Linked DNA regions of Homo sapiens: all the other regions are linked to region 3. The links are contacts of gene promoters, found by promoter capture Hi-C in blood cells and fetal thymus (Javierre and others, 2016). All regions are on one chromosome and are shown on one strand. Each heading gives the region's core, a stretch centred on a gene start or on the middle of the fragment in contact. The rest is flanking DNA. Distances are from core to core; before and after follow the strand shown. Region 1 has its middle 10 kb from the start of RAB11FIP4. Region 2 overlaps NF1 (neurofibromin 1). Region 3 holds the start of UTP6 (UTP6 small subunit processome component). Region 4 holds the start of NF1 (neurofibromin 1). Region 5 overlaps NF1 (neurofibromin 1).

The links. Contacts are between HindIII fragments. The CHiCAGO score rates a contact against its expected background, and 5 or more counts as called.
Region 1: a contact is called between a fragment that was not itself captured here and the fragment with the promoter of UTP6 in region 3, in 3 of 17 cell types (M2 macrophages, M1 macrophages and M0 macrophages). The highest score is 8.5, in M2 macrophages.
Region 2: a fragment that was not itself captured here is called in contact with the fragment with the promoter of UTP6 in region 3 in 1 of 17 cell types (M2 macrophages); the score reaches 5.5 in M2 macrophages.
Region 4: the fragment with the promoter of NF1 here is called in contact with the fragment with the promoter of UTP6 in region 3 in 1 of 17 cell types (erythroblasts); the score reaches 6.2 in erythroblasts.
Region 5: a contact is called between a fragment that was not itself captured here and the fragment with the promoter of UTP6 in region 3, in 1 of 17 cell types (neutrophils). The highest score is 5.4, in neutrophils.

Annotation. Positions count from the first base shown.
Region 1 is chr17:31,379,806-31,382,544 of GRCh38, reverse strand. No RefSeq gene overlaps it. Among named protein-coding and RNA genes, the nearest start is that of RAB11FIP4, 10 kb to the left of the region's middle. The HindIII fragment of the contact is 2,301 bases long and covers 248-2,548 here.
Region 2 is chr17:31,359,243-31,361,983 of GRCh38, reverse strand. NF1 (neurofibromin 1) reads right to left here. Exons shown (of 58, transcript NM_001042492.3): 57 at 1,281-1,497. Among named protein-coding and RNA genes, the nearest start is that of RAB11FIP4, 31 kb to the left of the region's middle. The HindIII fragment of the contact is 581 bases long and covers 1,116-1,696 here.
Region 3 is chr17:31,900,338-31,903,190 of GRCh38, reverse strand. It overlaps UTP6 (UTP6 small subunit processome component), which reads left to right and starts at 1,483. Exons shown (of 19, transcript NM_018428.3): 1 at 1,483-1,655. The coding sequence starts at 1,564. RefSeq lists enhancers at 1,489-1,538, 1,224-1,815, 1,859-2,008. The HindIII fragment of the contact is 12,725 bases long and covers 1-2,853 here.
Region 4 is chr17:31,093,609-31,096,308 of GRCh38, reverse strand. It overlaps NF1 (neurofibromin 1), which reads right to left and starts at 1,332. Exons shown (of 58, transcript NM_001042492.3): 1 at 940-1,332. The coding sequence starts at 999. MIR4733HG (MIR4733 host gene) reads left to right here and starts at 819. Exons shown (of 4, transcript NR_186435.1): 1 at 819-1,082. MIR4733 (microRNA 4733) reads left to right here and starts at 1,884; the gene lies at 1,884-1,959. RefSeq lists silencers at 928-977, 1,018-1,087, cis regulatory regions at 943-1,253, 1,480-1,719, an enhancer at 1,322-1,339 and a promoter at 1,327-1,752. The HindIII fragment of the contact is 8,302 bases long and covers 1-2,700 here.
Region 5 is chr17:31,331,515-31,334,247 of GRCh38, reverse strand. The region is part of intron 39 of NF1 (neurofibromin 1); the gene reads right to left. Among named protein-coding and RNA genes, the nearest start is that of EVI2A, 11 kb to the right of the region's middle. The HindIII fragment of the contact is 1,986 bases long and covers 311-2,296 here.

The sequences.
Region 1 (2,739 bases), core at 149-2,648, 520 kb after region 3:
TTGCTAATGTGACAAATGAAAATGGGACCCCTCTGTTTCAGCTTCCAGCAGAACATTTCCATCATCACAGCGGCTGGACATTACAGCCTGAGCTCCTTCCCTCTGGCATGATGGCTAGCCATTTGTAGATCAAATGAGTGAGTGATCAGAGATGGCTGATCACTCACTCTGGAGTCCCAAGACATCAGGGTGAGCAGAGCCTCCTGATAACGGGTGATGGACATGTAGCAGAGGTGAGAAATAAGCTTTTGTGGCTTTGAAGCCAATACACTTTGGGAGTTACTCATGCTTGTCTTTTTAAATAAAAAAATCAAAGCATAATCTGGACCTTCTAGCCTGTTCCACTTTATATTTACTCTAATTACCATTAGTATTTAAGCATTTAAAAATTTGTTTTACTACCTAATAAGGAAGTTTTCGACAACCCGTTGTTAGCCATGCTTTCCTGTTTATTCCACAAGGTGAAGAATATTTTCCAAAGATCATTTTGTCTGGATACACTCTCTTCTTGTTGGCATCTTGATCAGAATTGTATTAAGCCAGTTCATTTATTTGGGAAGATCTGGCATTCAACGATATTCAGCTTTCCAACCCAGGACTGTGGTCTGTCTCTCCATTTGCTGGAGTCTCCTTTAAGCCCAGCTTCCTCACATGCCTGCGTGCTGAGCAGTGCTGTGTGGAGAAAAATAAGCAGCAATGAGAGAAAACTGAGGACAACATAGTGACTTTTATAAAGCAAAACTAATTTCTTTTAAAGAACTGTACTTTATCCTGTGATTCCCTCCCCCACTACTCAGAGTTGAAATGGCGTTTTACAAAAAAACTATGTTAGATATATTTTTTTCTTGTTTCTAAATGCATAAGTTGATGAAATGTATTTTGGAAATTTTACTGATCTGTGAAATCTCAAAGTCTGGATTAGAATTTTCAATAGGTCTTTATTACACAGGTCACCTCTATTTTGTTAGGGATTTTGCATTGGGGTTGCTATTGTGTATGGGGATTTTCCCATTCTATTTATATAGTTCTTTATAACATAAAGCCTTCAGTGTTATTCAACAACTATCTATTGAGCACCTTTGAACAAAGCATGTTCCCTACACTGGGAGGCTCATAATCCTAACCAGGGACATAGGAAGATAGTTGATGATTACAAAGTTGTTGTATAGAGAAGCTGTCACAGAAGCAAGAGAAGGGCTCTCAGCCAATGGGAGATCAGAAAGCATTTCCAAGAGGTGCTGGTGCTCAAATTGAGTGACAACAAGGCACCCAGAAAATGTTTTGCTGAATGACTGCTGCACACTCAAAAAGACTTGGTATTTTGATAATGAATTTTTGTCTCCTGTAGAATCCTAGATATGAGTAAGGGTGGTATTTGTGGAGTCTTTTTTAATGAAGGCACAGATCACCTAATTCCTTTCTGCCTTCCATTCACAAATTACCAAATTGCAAAGAAAGTATCTCTTTACCATCAATTTCTTTCTACTTCAACTTTGGGCCAGACTCAAAACATTTATAATTGCCAGGATAGAAAAAGTGTTGCTATTTTTGTGATCTGGGGCTAAGGCATATCTTCACGTATTTTTTGTTTTTATTTTTTCTTGAGACGGAGTTTCGCTCTTGTTGCCCAGGCTGGAGTGCAATGGCGCGATCTCGGCTCACTGCAACCATTGCTTCCTGGTTCAAGCGATTCTCCTGCCTCAGCCTCCCGAGTAGCTGGGATTACAGGCATGTGCCACCATGTCCAGCTAATTTTGTATTTTCAGTAGAGATGGGGTTTCTCCATGTTGGTCAGGCTGGTCTCCAACTCCTGACCTCAGGTAATCTGCCCACCTCGGCCTCCCAAAGTGTTGGGATTACAGGCGTAAGCCACTGCGCCTGGCCCATATACTTTGTAAATGTAGAAAATTAAGCTGCATTCCCCAACGTGGGACAAAAGAATGGAGAAAAATAACACGAGAAGCCAATCTCCTGTGGTGTGCTGCTTTCTGCCTAAACACTTATCTGCTACTTGCCCTCTCTGGGCCAGTCTCCTCTCTCTCTTTTTTTTTTTTTTTTTTGAGATGGAGTCTCGCTCTGTCACCCAGGCTGGAGTGCAGTGGCACGATCTCACTCACTGCAAGCTCCGCCTCCCAGGTTCATGCCATTCTCCTGCCTCAGCCTCCCGTGTAGCTGGGACTACAGGCGCCCACCACAATGCCTGGCTAATTTTTTGTATTTTTAGTAGAGACGGGGTTTCACCGTGTTAGCCAGGATGGTCTCGATCTCCTGACCTCGTGATCCGTCTCTGGGCCAGTCTGTTAACGGACTTGATTACCTTCTGTCCATTAAATACTCCAAAACCCTATTTTCAACTGCTCACTGGACACATTTCAACCTGGACAAACTTCTTGGTCATTCTTTAAGACCCACCTCCTCAGTTGCCAACCATGCCAGTCACTCCATGACCCTCTAAAAACCCCACCCACACCTTGGGACACTGTGGTCATTGTTTGTGTGGCTGTTTTCCCCACTAAGTCATGAGGTCATAGAGGACAAAGGCCAAGCTTTCTTCTTTTGTATTTACAATTATAACCAAAGGAAAAACTTTTTTTGAACAATCAGCTAAGGTTGCATCTGTCAACATTTTCTTCCCTTAAAAATATTAATTTAGGCAATGCTTTCTGAACTTCTGAGCAGGAAAGGGCCCTATTAAGATTCCAATGTGACTGTCTTATTTTATATAGAGGAAGTGGCCAA
Region 2 (2,741 bases), core at 157-2,656, 540 kb after region 3:
GTTACATGGGAAAAAAAGTTAGACTTCTCTTACTTCTGGGGGAAAAAAGGATTACTTGTAAGGCGACTGACAAATGTGGAAATAAAATTTGTTTCCTCTGCTGACCAAAGCTTTGTTGTTAAGCAGAATTTAATAGAATATAGTTAATTACATAATAGTTTATAATATGAATTGGGTATTGCCAAATTCTTCAGAACCTTCAAAATTACATAAGTTGAAATGTTCATGCAAAACTGAGATCATAAACTGGGAATTCTATTTATTGATCTTGAATATCACAGAATAGTTATGTCATTGGATTTTTTTTAAATTTATGCTAACACTTAAAAGAACTATATATAGTAACTTTTCCTTATACAATGATGTGTTTCATAAGTGAACTTTTCAGATAATGGAACGTTAAACAACTAAAGTTTCTTTTATTTTTAACCATTTTAGAAGAATATCTTTCTAAATAGAAAACACAACCATAACAAAAGCTTTCCTTCATTACTCACTGTCATAATAACACACACAATAGTTTAAGTTCTATAATGAATAGCACCTCCAGGGTCAACCAGAGTTGTATGAAACCATTCACTATGACACTGAATAAGTCCAGAGTTCTGTAGGTTTGCCATTTCTCCCACCTTGTTTATCTCAGTCCCACTGGAGCTATTAGCTATTAGTATTTCTCAGTGTATTCAAATCTAAGTTGCATTACGAATTGGTATATATATGCTTATGGGCTTTAAGATGTTATTTTCTTGAGATGAATTTTTTGTTTGATTATTTATTTACTTCCAGATTTTCAGGATGGTCTATGGATGGTTGAGTTATTGCTGGCAGCAGGAAAGTGAGGTACCTAATAGATTTTGTGTTTCTTCTTCTTCTTCTTTTTTTTTTTTTTTTTTTTTTTTTTTGATATAGTATGCTGTATCAGAGACAGAGAAAGAGGCCCTTAGGGCAATGTTAGTATATCTAGTAAATAAATTATAGTTCTGTTCACTTACAGAATAATGTGTTTTAAGTTCCTCTTCCTGCCCAAACTCTACAAACTTGTCAACCTTGGAATATCATGTGGACATTTTAACATTTTACTGTCTTATGTACAACTTGTTTGAAAGTAGAAAGCTTCATAGAATAACAAAAGTCAAGTCAGTTACAAGGTAAAGAAGAAATGTAAGGTGAATCTCATAAGAAAAAGGAGCAAAATTTGCTATAAACTGATCACAAGGGAATTCCTAATGTTGGTGTCTTATATTGTTGCTCAAAGTCATATAAAGATCACATTTACTGACCTGGGGAATGCTGGGAAGTTGCAAGTGAGGTCATGGAATTAGAAAGGTTAAGGTTGGCAGTGATACTAAGCTGGCTCTGCAGTGCAGGAGGGTAAGGAGATGTGGGAGTCAGGAGGGATTCTTCACTGGTTTCTTCATCAATTCCAGGCAGGTACGTGTCAATCAAGGCATCAAGAAACTTAACAATAAGCTCAGCATAGTCTGGAATTTGTGTTTGCTGTAATGGAAAATAGGAAATTATTTTAGTTCCTTTTTTTTAAGTAAATCCCCATCTGAAGCCAAAAATATTAATTTTGTTTGGACTTAATTTACTATTTTTCTTCCTTTGTATTACTTATCATTAAAAAAGGGGAGTGGAGTAATATTTATAGACTACCATAGGACTTACAACAGGGAGTTCTATTCAGCTTAAAGCTTCCAGATGAACCTGCATTTTCTGAAAGCCATGCACAAGACAGACTGAATGTAATACTGAGACAATACAATCACCAGGAATGATGTCTAGCCAATTTTCCAAAACAGAGAAAATGAGCAGAGCATCATCATTCCAGCTGCCATTTAGATTCCACTCACTAGACACTGTAAAGGGCTCAGAGGGTTACTGGCAATCCAAATGCAAAAACTTCTGTATGATATACTTATTTCTGTAACTTCAGGCCCATTTTTTAAGTGACAACCTTTGCATGTTGACAGATATTCAAGTAATAGTGAAAGGAAATAAATAAAATACCCAATTCTTAAAAACTGGAACAAGGTTTATACAATTCATATTGATTTAGCACCCCCTGTATCTAAAACACTGCACCAGGAACTGTTTAAGGAAGAAACAGAAACCCTGTCTTCAAGGAACTTTGATCAATTTGGAGAGAGCCCACATACAGAGAAAATGATCATATACATCTTATGTAGCACTACATAAACTAATGCCAATCAAAAAACAAACTGAGGCCAGGTGCGGTGGCTCATGCCTGTAATCCCAGCACTTTGGGAGGCCGAGGTGGGCAGATCACGAGGTCAAGAGATCAAGACCATCCTGGCCAACATGGTGAAACCCTGTTTCTACTAAAAATACAAAAATTAGCTGGGCGTGGTGCTGCATGCCTGTAGTCTCAGCTACTCGGGAGACTGAGGCAGGAGAATCGCTTGAACCTGGGAGGCAGAGGTTGCAGTGAGCCAAGATTGCGCCACTGCACTCCAGCCTGGAGACAGAGTGAGACTCCGTCTCACAAAACAAACAAACAAACAAAAAAACTGAATAAGAGCAAATGAGGACAAATCCAGAGAGAAATTAATCTAATCTAATAGGCTGGAAATAAAAATGTTTTCATGAAATAGATTTTAACCATGGTAATGCTCCTTGCTAGTCATAAGATATCTAACTGTGTGCATTAAGATTATCAAATACACAAGGGACTGTGGCAGAAAAGTATCACAGAGGTTTATCATACTCTTCTGAAAAAT
Region 3 (2,853 bases), core at 234-2,733:
AGTACCTTTTCTTAGTGTCATGCATTTATTAACTGAGTACTTATTATATGGTAGGCACTGCTATAAGCTGTAGAGTATCTAGCCAGTCAAAAAGGAAAAAATTCCCTGCCCATATGGAGTTTACTATCTAGTGTCATCTCCACTCTTACTGTTAACACAGCCCCAGAGATTTTACTTTTACAAATAAATTCTATCTTTGTCTTACATTCGTGATTTCCTTCCACTTCTGACATGTCTTACAGCTGAAGGATTCAAGAAATGGTGTAGCACAAGCCAACCCTCGTCTCAGTTCTGAGATGAGTGGGTAAAATGTGAAAGGAAAGAAAGAAATGCAAGGCACAGAGGTGGAACATGGTTTTGCTGAGCCCATTCTCCTTTCATAAATCACACACAGGATCCAGGTGCTAATGTGAATGTTGAAATAAGCAGATTTAGCAAGAACTGCTGCTTTGGCTTTTTTATATCCAGAACTAAAAAAGAACTGAACCATGTAGTTATCATTTGAGGTTTACTAACTATACCAGCAATATTGCCTCCAAGCTGTGTTGCCTGGTGTTTCTCTTAGAAATGCTAAGTTGCTTGGGCAATGGTTTAAGGAGGGTGTCTATACCTTAGTGATTTATTTTGGTAATTCTCAAACTTTTCAATACAAAAATCTCCTTTTCTAAAAAGAATTTATAGTGTCTGATATTCACCTAGGGACATATATTTTGAAAGCTATTGCTTACAAAGACAGGATATTGATTTAAATAATAAACAATTCTATTTTATTTATTTATTTATTTAGAGACGGAGTTTCACTCTTGTTGCCCAAGCTGGAGTGCAATGGCGCGATCTCGGCCTCCCAGGTTCAAGCGATTCTCCTGCCTCAGCCTCCCGAGTAGCTGGGATTACAGGCGCGTGCCAGCACGCCCAGTTAATTTTTTTGCATTTTTAGTAGAAACGGGGTTTCATCATGTTAGCCAGGATGGTCTCGAACTCCTGACTTCAGGTGATCTGCCCGCCTCGGCCTCCTAAACTGCTGGGATTACAGGCATGAGCCACCGCGACCGGCTTTCAAAAATGTTTAATTGTACAATATCCTCCTCCTTTGCTTTTTTTTTTGTTGTTGTTCTTGGTGTTGGGAAGTCAGGACGTGGGATGGGAGACAATATTCTGAAGAAAATGCATCTCGTGTCCCTTTCAGGCTTGAGCAGCCCACCTCTCTACACCTGGAGGCGCTTTTCCTGATGGCTGTCCAAGTCTAGCGGCGCGCGCACTTAACCCCTCCCTCCCGTCTAGCCCCGCCCCTCAACTCCTGTCCGCTAGAGTCGTCCTGCCCAAGACCAGGGCGGGTTCTCGCTGCAATCCCACAATCGGCCACAGGGAGGGGACGGTGGCTGTAGAAGCCGAAGGGCCTTCCCCTAAGTAGGAGGTGGCGGAAGCGGAAAAGGCGGGACCTAGGGAGCACGTTACGTCCGGACGCGTCGGTGGTAGGGCTGGGTCTCCGAACCTGAAACCGGGAGCTTCCTGCTCGTGTTCGCTGTTGAGAAGCTACCCGCGGGGTTGTAGACCTCGGACCTCATGGCAGAGATAATTCAGGAACGCATAGAAGATCGGCTCCCGGAATTGGAACAGCTGGAGCGCATTGGACTGTTCAGTCATGCGGAGATTAAGTGAGAGAGGGTTGGGGAGAGGGAAGAGCTGAGGCGGCCTGAGGGGAGGTTGGGAGTGTGTGGCAGGGGCTAGATGTGGGGACGCTCGACCTGTGTTTACTTTTCCTAACGTGGTGGAAGCCCATTTCTCGTTTTCGGTGATGTCCAGAATTAATTTTTCATTCGTTGCAAGGTAATCCGTCCGTCTACTTACCCATCAGACGTTTTGACAGCCCTTCATGGAGCCGGGTCTTAGGGCTGTAAAGGTGATAAACCCAGGATTCCTGCTCATTAGGAGCTAATTGGGCAGAGTGTGGTGGGGGAGACAGACAAATTAAATATTTTGATAACAGTGTACTGTAAGTTGATTGTAGTACCTTGTACTGCTGTAGGGATGGGAACAGAGTGCTGTGAGAGCCCAGGGGGAGTGGATAAATTCCTAACTAGACTTGAAGGTGGGGACCATTGAAATCAGTTTCATATGCTACTCCAGAGCCTAACTACAGCGCCTGGCACATGGTAGACATTCAGTAGCGTGTTAAAATTATGTTTAATAGTTTTTAATGGTTTCTGTGACTGTTGCTTTGTTTTGCAACGTCTGAATGTAGTAATGTGACTCAGAGCTTCAAAGTAAGCATTCGTTAATGAAACACAAAACAAAGCAGTGTGGACGCTTAGAAAGTGCTCAGTTAAGGTTAATGTTACCATTACTAAAGACACCTGTCTTGCACATCTTGCATTAAATTCTCCTAATATATATTTGTCATATGTTCATTCCTTAGCTAAGGACTCTGAATCTTCTCCCGTAAGTCCTTCGTAGTAATAAGTCTTTTAAGGCAGACGCAATTTAGATTTTTAAAAAAATTTACATGTTGAGAACTCAGAAATAAGAGGAATTTCGGAAAGAAATTTATTATTAAAATTTAAGTGACCTGAACTTGGAGTAAAAGAAGTCTTTATTAATACCAGCCAGGCGCTGTGGCTCACGCCTGTAATCCCAGCACTTTGGGAGGCCGAGGTGGGTGGATCACGAGGTCAGGAGTTCGAGACCAGCCTGGCCAATATGGTGAAACCCCGTCTCTACTAAAAATACAAAAATTAGCTGAGCGTGGTGGTGAGCGCCTGTAGTCCCAGCTACTCGGGAGTCTGAGGCAGGAGAATCGCTTGAACTCGGGAGGCCGAGGTTGTAGTGAGCCAAGATCATGCCACTGCACTCCAG
Region 4 (2,700 bases), core at 83-2,582, 810 kb after region 3:
AAACACTAGCAGAATGATCCGCTCCAGGACCACATCCCAGCTGGCTTTGCTCTGTTGTCGGTGGCTCTGAAGCAGTTTCTCACTTTCCTTTCACCCTTCTCCCCTTTACTCCCCAACATTCTCACTCGAGAATGCATCACATCCTCAGACCGCTGGCAAAAAAAAAAGGGGGGGGGGAAGAGACTGCAATTATCAAGGAAGGGGAAGATATTTCAGAACCACGGTTTCCACTGCAAACGGCAATAAAAAAAAAAGGCAGTCTGTGTCATCAGGATATGGGGGACGACGTTGTAGGGCATCACAAAGATGTGCAGTGAGTGTGCACTTGAAGCTCTCGGGGCAGGATGAGACGATGGAGCAGAAAGTAAGAAAACCTGTGCCTTCCTTGCTTTCTTCTGCTCTTCCCCCTCCAGGAGAGGAAGCTGAAGAAACTGGGGGAGGGGCGGAATGTTATCGTTCTCCTATTGAGGGTATATAAGACAGGCCTTAGGGTTCGCTCGTCCCCAGTTAGGAGGGTCACGGAGGGAAGAGGAAGAGAGAACCCCTAAACGTTACCCACCTCTGCTCAAAAACAAAAGTAAGGGGGTAATTATTAAATCCAGATGGCGCGCCCCTAAAGGCGCCCCCAGGTCACTCATCCCCATTTCCAAGCGGAAGGGCTGGGATAAAGGGGATGGAGGGTCGGAGGCTGGTCAGGGACAAGGCCCCACCCCCCGACTTAGGAGGGAAAGGGTGCCCAAGCTCCCAGCTGTCCCCTCCTACCCCTCACCTCCCGCCTTGGCCACCCCCACTTATCCCCCCTTCCCTTCTCTTCCCTTCCCTTCCTTTCCTCCAGAGCCTGAGGCAGCCGCGGGGGAGGCGGCCGCTCCTACCTCCCCTCACCTACTCTGTCCCCACCCCCACTCCGCTCCCACCTCCCGCCCGCCACGGGCCGGTTACCTGCTCGTCGAAGCGGCTGACCACGGCCTGGACCCATTCCACCGGCCTGTGCGCGGCCATGTCCTCCCCGCGGCCGGGGGGCGGCGGAGGGAAGGGTGGGCCGGCGCCCTGGGCCGGGAAGAGGGCGGGGAGCGGAGGCTGAGGTGAGGGAAGAGGCAAGGAGAGGGTCTGTGGAGTGCAGGCTCCCAGTGTTCCCACGGGGGTGGGGATGGGGGGTCAGCGCCGAGCGGGAGGGGGAGAGGGAAAGGGGGCGTTGGCAAGGAGGCTGGGGGGAGGGGGATAGGGGAAGGGGACCCGGGGAGGGGAGGGGGCCTCTTGGTCGCTCTCCCCACTAGCGCCGTCTCCCCACAGCCATCACAGTCCGAGACGCCGCCATGACACCCCACCGGAAGTGGGATCCTTTCCACGGCCCGGGGAGAGGGAGCGCGAGCGAGCTAGAGATTGAGAGCGCGGCTGGGAAAGGGGAGGGGGAAGCGAGAGGGAAGGCGGCCTGCCGCGCATGCGCCCGCGCCGGCCGGTTTCATTAATGAAAAAGCGAGTCCTCCTGGAGGTGACGTCATCTAACTCCTCTGGGCCGTCTGGCGAGCGTCCCTCACCGCCGTGGGGCTCACCTAGACTGGCGCTGGGCTCAGCTGGCGAGTGCCAGAGCTGACCCGGGAGCATCCACTCCCATCCCCACCGCCCCCTACAGCTGTCCCCTCCCCCGCCGGCCTCCGGGTTTGGATTGCTCCCGGAGTTGGAAGTTAGGGCGCCCTGGGGCTAGCCTTTCTCCCAGCGCGCGGATCTCTGCCGCTAATCTCCTGGGGAGGCTGTGCTCTCAGCTTAAGCTCTCAGAAAAAATAAGGTACACGACCTCCGATTTTCAGGTTCTTCGTAGCTTGGTAGACTGCTGAGAAACAAAAAAGGAAGGCCAAAGAGAGATTCCGTGATTTTTTTTTTTTAGAGGTCGCTTAAATCCCAATGCTAGACCCGGTGGCAATCAAGGTCTAGCCACCAGGTCTAGCATTGGGATTTAAGCCCAGCTTTCCTCTGCAAAACTCATAGCCATCCAAGTTAATATAACTATTGCACAGTTGATGAGAGATTCAAGTTTCACCACCCTCAAAACACCTTTAAGGCCTTGCATTCATTATTAATTCAATATATTCATCGTCTTATTTAAATCCTTGAACAAACCTTTTCAATACATATCATTAACTTCATGAACTGATGAATACGTCACGTCCCCACCCCCGTGGGAACGCTGGGAGCCTGCACTCCTCCCTCAGACCTTTGATTTGCCCAAGGTCTGAGTTGACAGGTGGCAAAGTCAGGATGTAAACCAACGTGGTTTAACTCCTAGAACAATAGAGGTAGACTATGGGTCTCCTAAAACAAAGTCCTTCCCTATACCTCCAATACCAGAGTTGAAAGGATTTCATGTGTAATTGGGTTGTGCCAGTTTTCCAGGAAGAGGATTACATCCAAAACAACGGATAATCTATGTCTGACATTGGACTTTGGAATGACTAATTTTTTTTTTTTTTTTTTAAGACAGAGTCTCACCCTGTCACCCAGGCTGGAGTGCAGAGGCGCGATCTCGGCTCACTGCAACCTCCGCCTCCCGGTTGAAGTGATTCTTCTGCCTCAGCCTCCCGAGTAGCTGGGACTACAGGCATGCGCCACCACAGCCGGCTAATTTTTGTATTTTTAGTAGAGACGGTGTTTCACCATATTGGCCAGGCTGGTCTTGAACTCCTGACCTCATGATCCGCCCACCTC
Region 5 (2,733 bases), core at 54-2,553, 570 kb after region 3:
TCGGCTCACTGCAAGTTCCGCCTCCCGGGTTCACAGGTTCACACCATTCTCCTGCCTCAGCCTCCCGAGTAGCTGGGACTACAGGCGCCCACCACCACGCCCGGCAAATTTTTTTTCATATTTTGAGTAGAGACGGGGTTTCACTGTGTTAGCCAGGATGGTCTCAATCTCCTGACCTCGTGATCTGCCCGCCTCGGCCTCCCAAAGTGCTGGGATTACAGGCGTGAGCCACCACCCCTGGCCTATACTGAGATTATTTATTCAACATTACAAATTCTGCAAACTTCTTTTAAACTTACTTGAAAAAGCTTCACATTTATAAGACAAAAATTGTACAAAAATTTATCTATACACTTTACCTAAAGTCTCAAAGAGTTTTTAAAATTGTGGTAAAATATACACAACACAAAATTTACCATTTTAACTATTTTTAAATGTACAGTTCCGTGGCTTTACCCATTTTGAAGGGCACAGTTCAGTGGCACTGAGTACATTCAAATCATTGTGCAGCCATCACCACCATCCATCTCTAGAACCTTTTCATCTTCCAAACTGAAATTCTGTAACAAAGCCATTTTTCAATGGCTTCATATTATTCCATCAGATGGAGAACCAATAATTTAATCAGTTCCTTATTCTTTGACTTTTGGCCTGTTCATTTTTTTGCTATTATAAATAATGTCATATGAAGTTCTAAAGTAGGCAAAATAAATCTGTGCAATAGAGGTCATAATAGTGTTTACTCTTGGTGAAGGGAGGGTACTGAGAATATCCCTCTGGATGCTAGAAATGTTCTATGTCTAGATCTGGAGATACTTTCATGATGTATTTGCATGTAGAAGTTCATCAAGCTGTTGACTTAAGATCTTGCACTTTACTGATGACAAGATATACCTCAATTTAAAAATCTACATAAAAATAATGCTATAATAAACATTTTAACATTAATTCTTTAGGATAAATGCTAAAAAGCAGAATTATGAGGCCAAAAGGTATGAATAGTCTTAAGGTCTTGTTATCCACTTCCAAATGCCTTTCTAGAAAAATTGCCTCTACTCACAATTCCACAGACCACCAGGAATGGATCTTAAAAAAAAAATCTTTGCCAAGCTGATAACTGATTATCTCACTATTCTTTCAATTGGCTTTTATTAGTGAATTTCTTAAAATATAAATATTCTTTTTGAGATGGGGGCCTCACTATGTTGTCCAGGCTGGTCTCAAACTCCTGGGCTTAGCGATCCTCCTGAGCAGGTGGGATTACAGGCATGTGCCATGGTGCCTGGCTTTTTTCTTTTTTTGTACAAATATTCTTTTTTAAAAAACATAAAAAATGATGAGTTCATATCCTTTGTAGGGACATGGATGAAATTGGAAACCATCATTCTCAGTAAACTATCGCAAGAACAAAAAACCAAACACCGCATATTCTCACTCATAGGTGGGAATTGAACAATGAGATCACATGGACACAGGAAGGGGAATATCACACTCTGGGGACTGTGGTGGGGTCGGGGGAGGGGGGAGGGATAGCATTGGGAGATATACCTAATGCTAGATGACACAGTAGTGGGTGCAGCGCACCAGCATGGCACATGTATACATATGTAACTAACCTGCACAATGTGCACATGTACCCTAAAACTTAGAGTATAATAAAAAAAAAAAAAAAACCATGATCTGTATGTTACTGTTAATCCACTTTTTATTAATCGGTCAGCACCCTTCATGATTAAGGATTTTATTCATTCATTCATTCATTTATTCATTCATTTATTTATTTTGAGACAGAGTCTCCCTCTGTTGCCCAGGCTGGAGTGCAGTGGAGTGATCTCGGCTCACTGCAACCTCTGCCTCCTGGGTTCAAGCAATTCTCCTGCCTCAGCCTCCTGAGTAGCTGGGACTACAGGCATGTACCACCGAGCCCGGCTAATTTTTGTATTTTTAGTAGAGAGGGGATTTCACCATATTGGCCAGGCTGGTCTCGAACTCCTTACCTTGTGATCCACCCACCTCAGCCTCCCAAAGTGCTGGGATTACAGGCGTGAGCCACCGCGTCTGGCCGATTAAGGATATTAATCATTTCTCATATTTGCTCCAAGTGTATTTCCTAGTTTTTAATTATCTTCACTTGTGTTTATTTTTGAGTAGCTATGTTTTGAAGTTTTATGTAGTCAAATCTGTTCGCTATTTCCTTTGTTTCATCCTATCACTTTTTTACTTCATATGTCCTTACTCATCTAGAAAGCAATTAAATATTCACTTGTTCCTCTTCTTTTTAAAATGGTTCCAAGCTTTTATATACAACTTTTTTTTTTTTTTTTTTTTTTTTTTTTTTTTTTTAATAGAGAAGGGTCTCACTCTATCATCCAGGCTGGAGTGCAGTGGTACGATGATAGCTCACTATAGCCCTGACCTCTGGGGCTCAAGCAATCCTCCTGCCACAATCCTCTTGCCTCAACCTCCCAAAGTGCTGGGATTACAGGCGAGAGCCACCACACACAGCCCTACTCAACTCTTAAATACAGGCAGAACATACTTGGTATCTTATGGTGTACGGTGAAGACGAAGACCTAATTTAAGTCATTTCCCAGCCTCATTTATTAAATGATTTAATCTCTCCCTCATCAGTTTGTGATGCTTCTTTATCAATCTGTTTCTCTTAAACTGATCTGATGGCTGATTCTTGCACATGTATGTTTTAATTATTGTACTGCTATAAAGTGTTCAGAC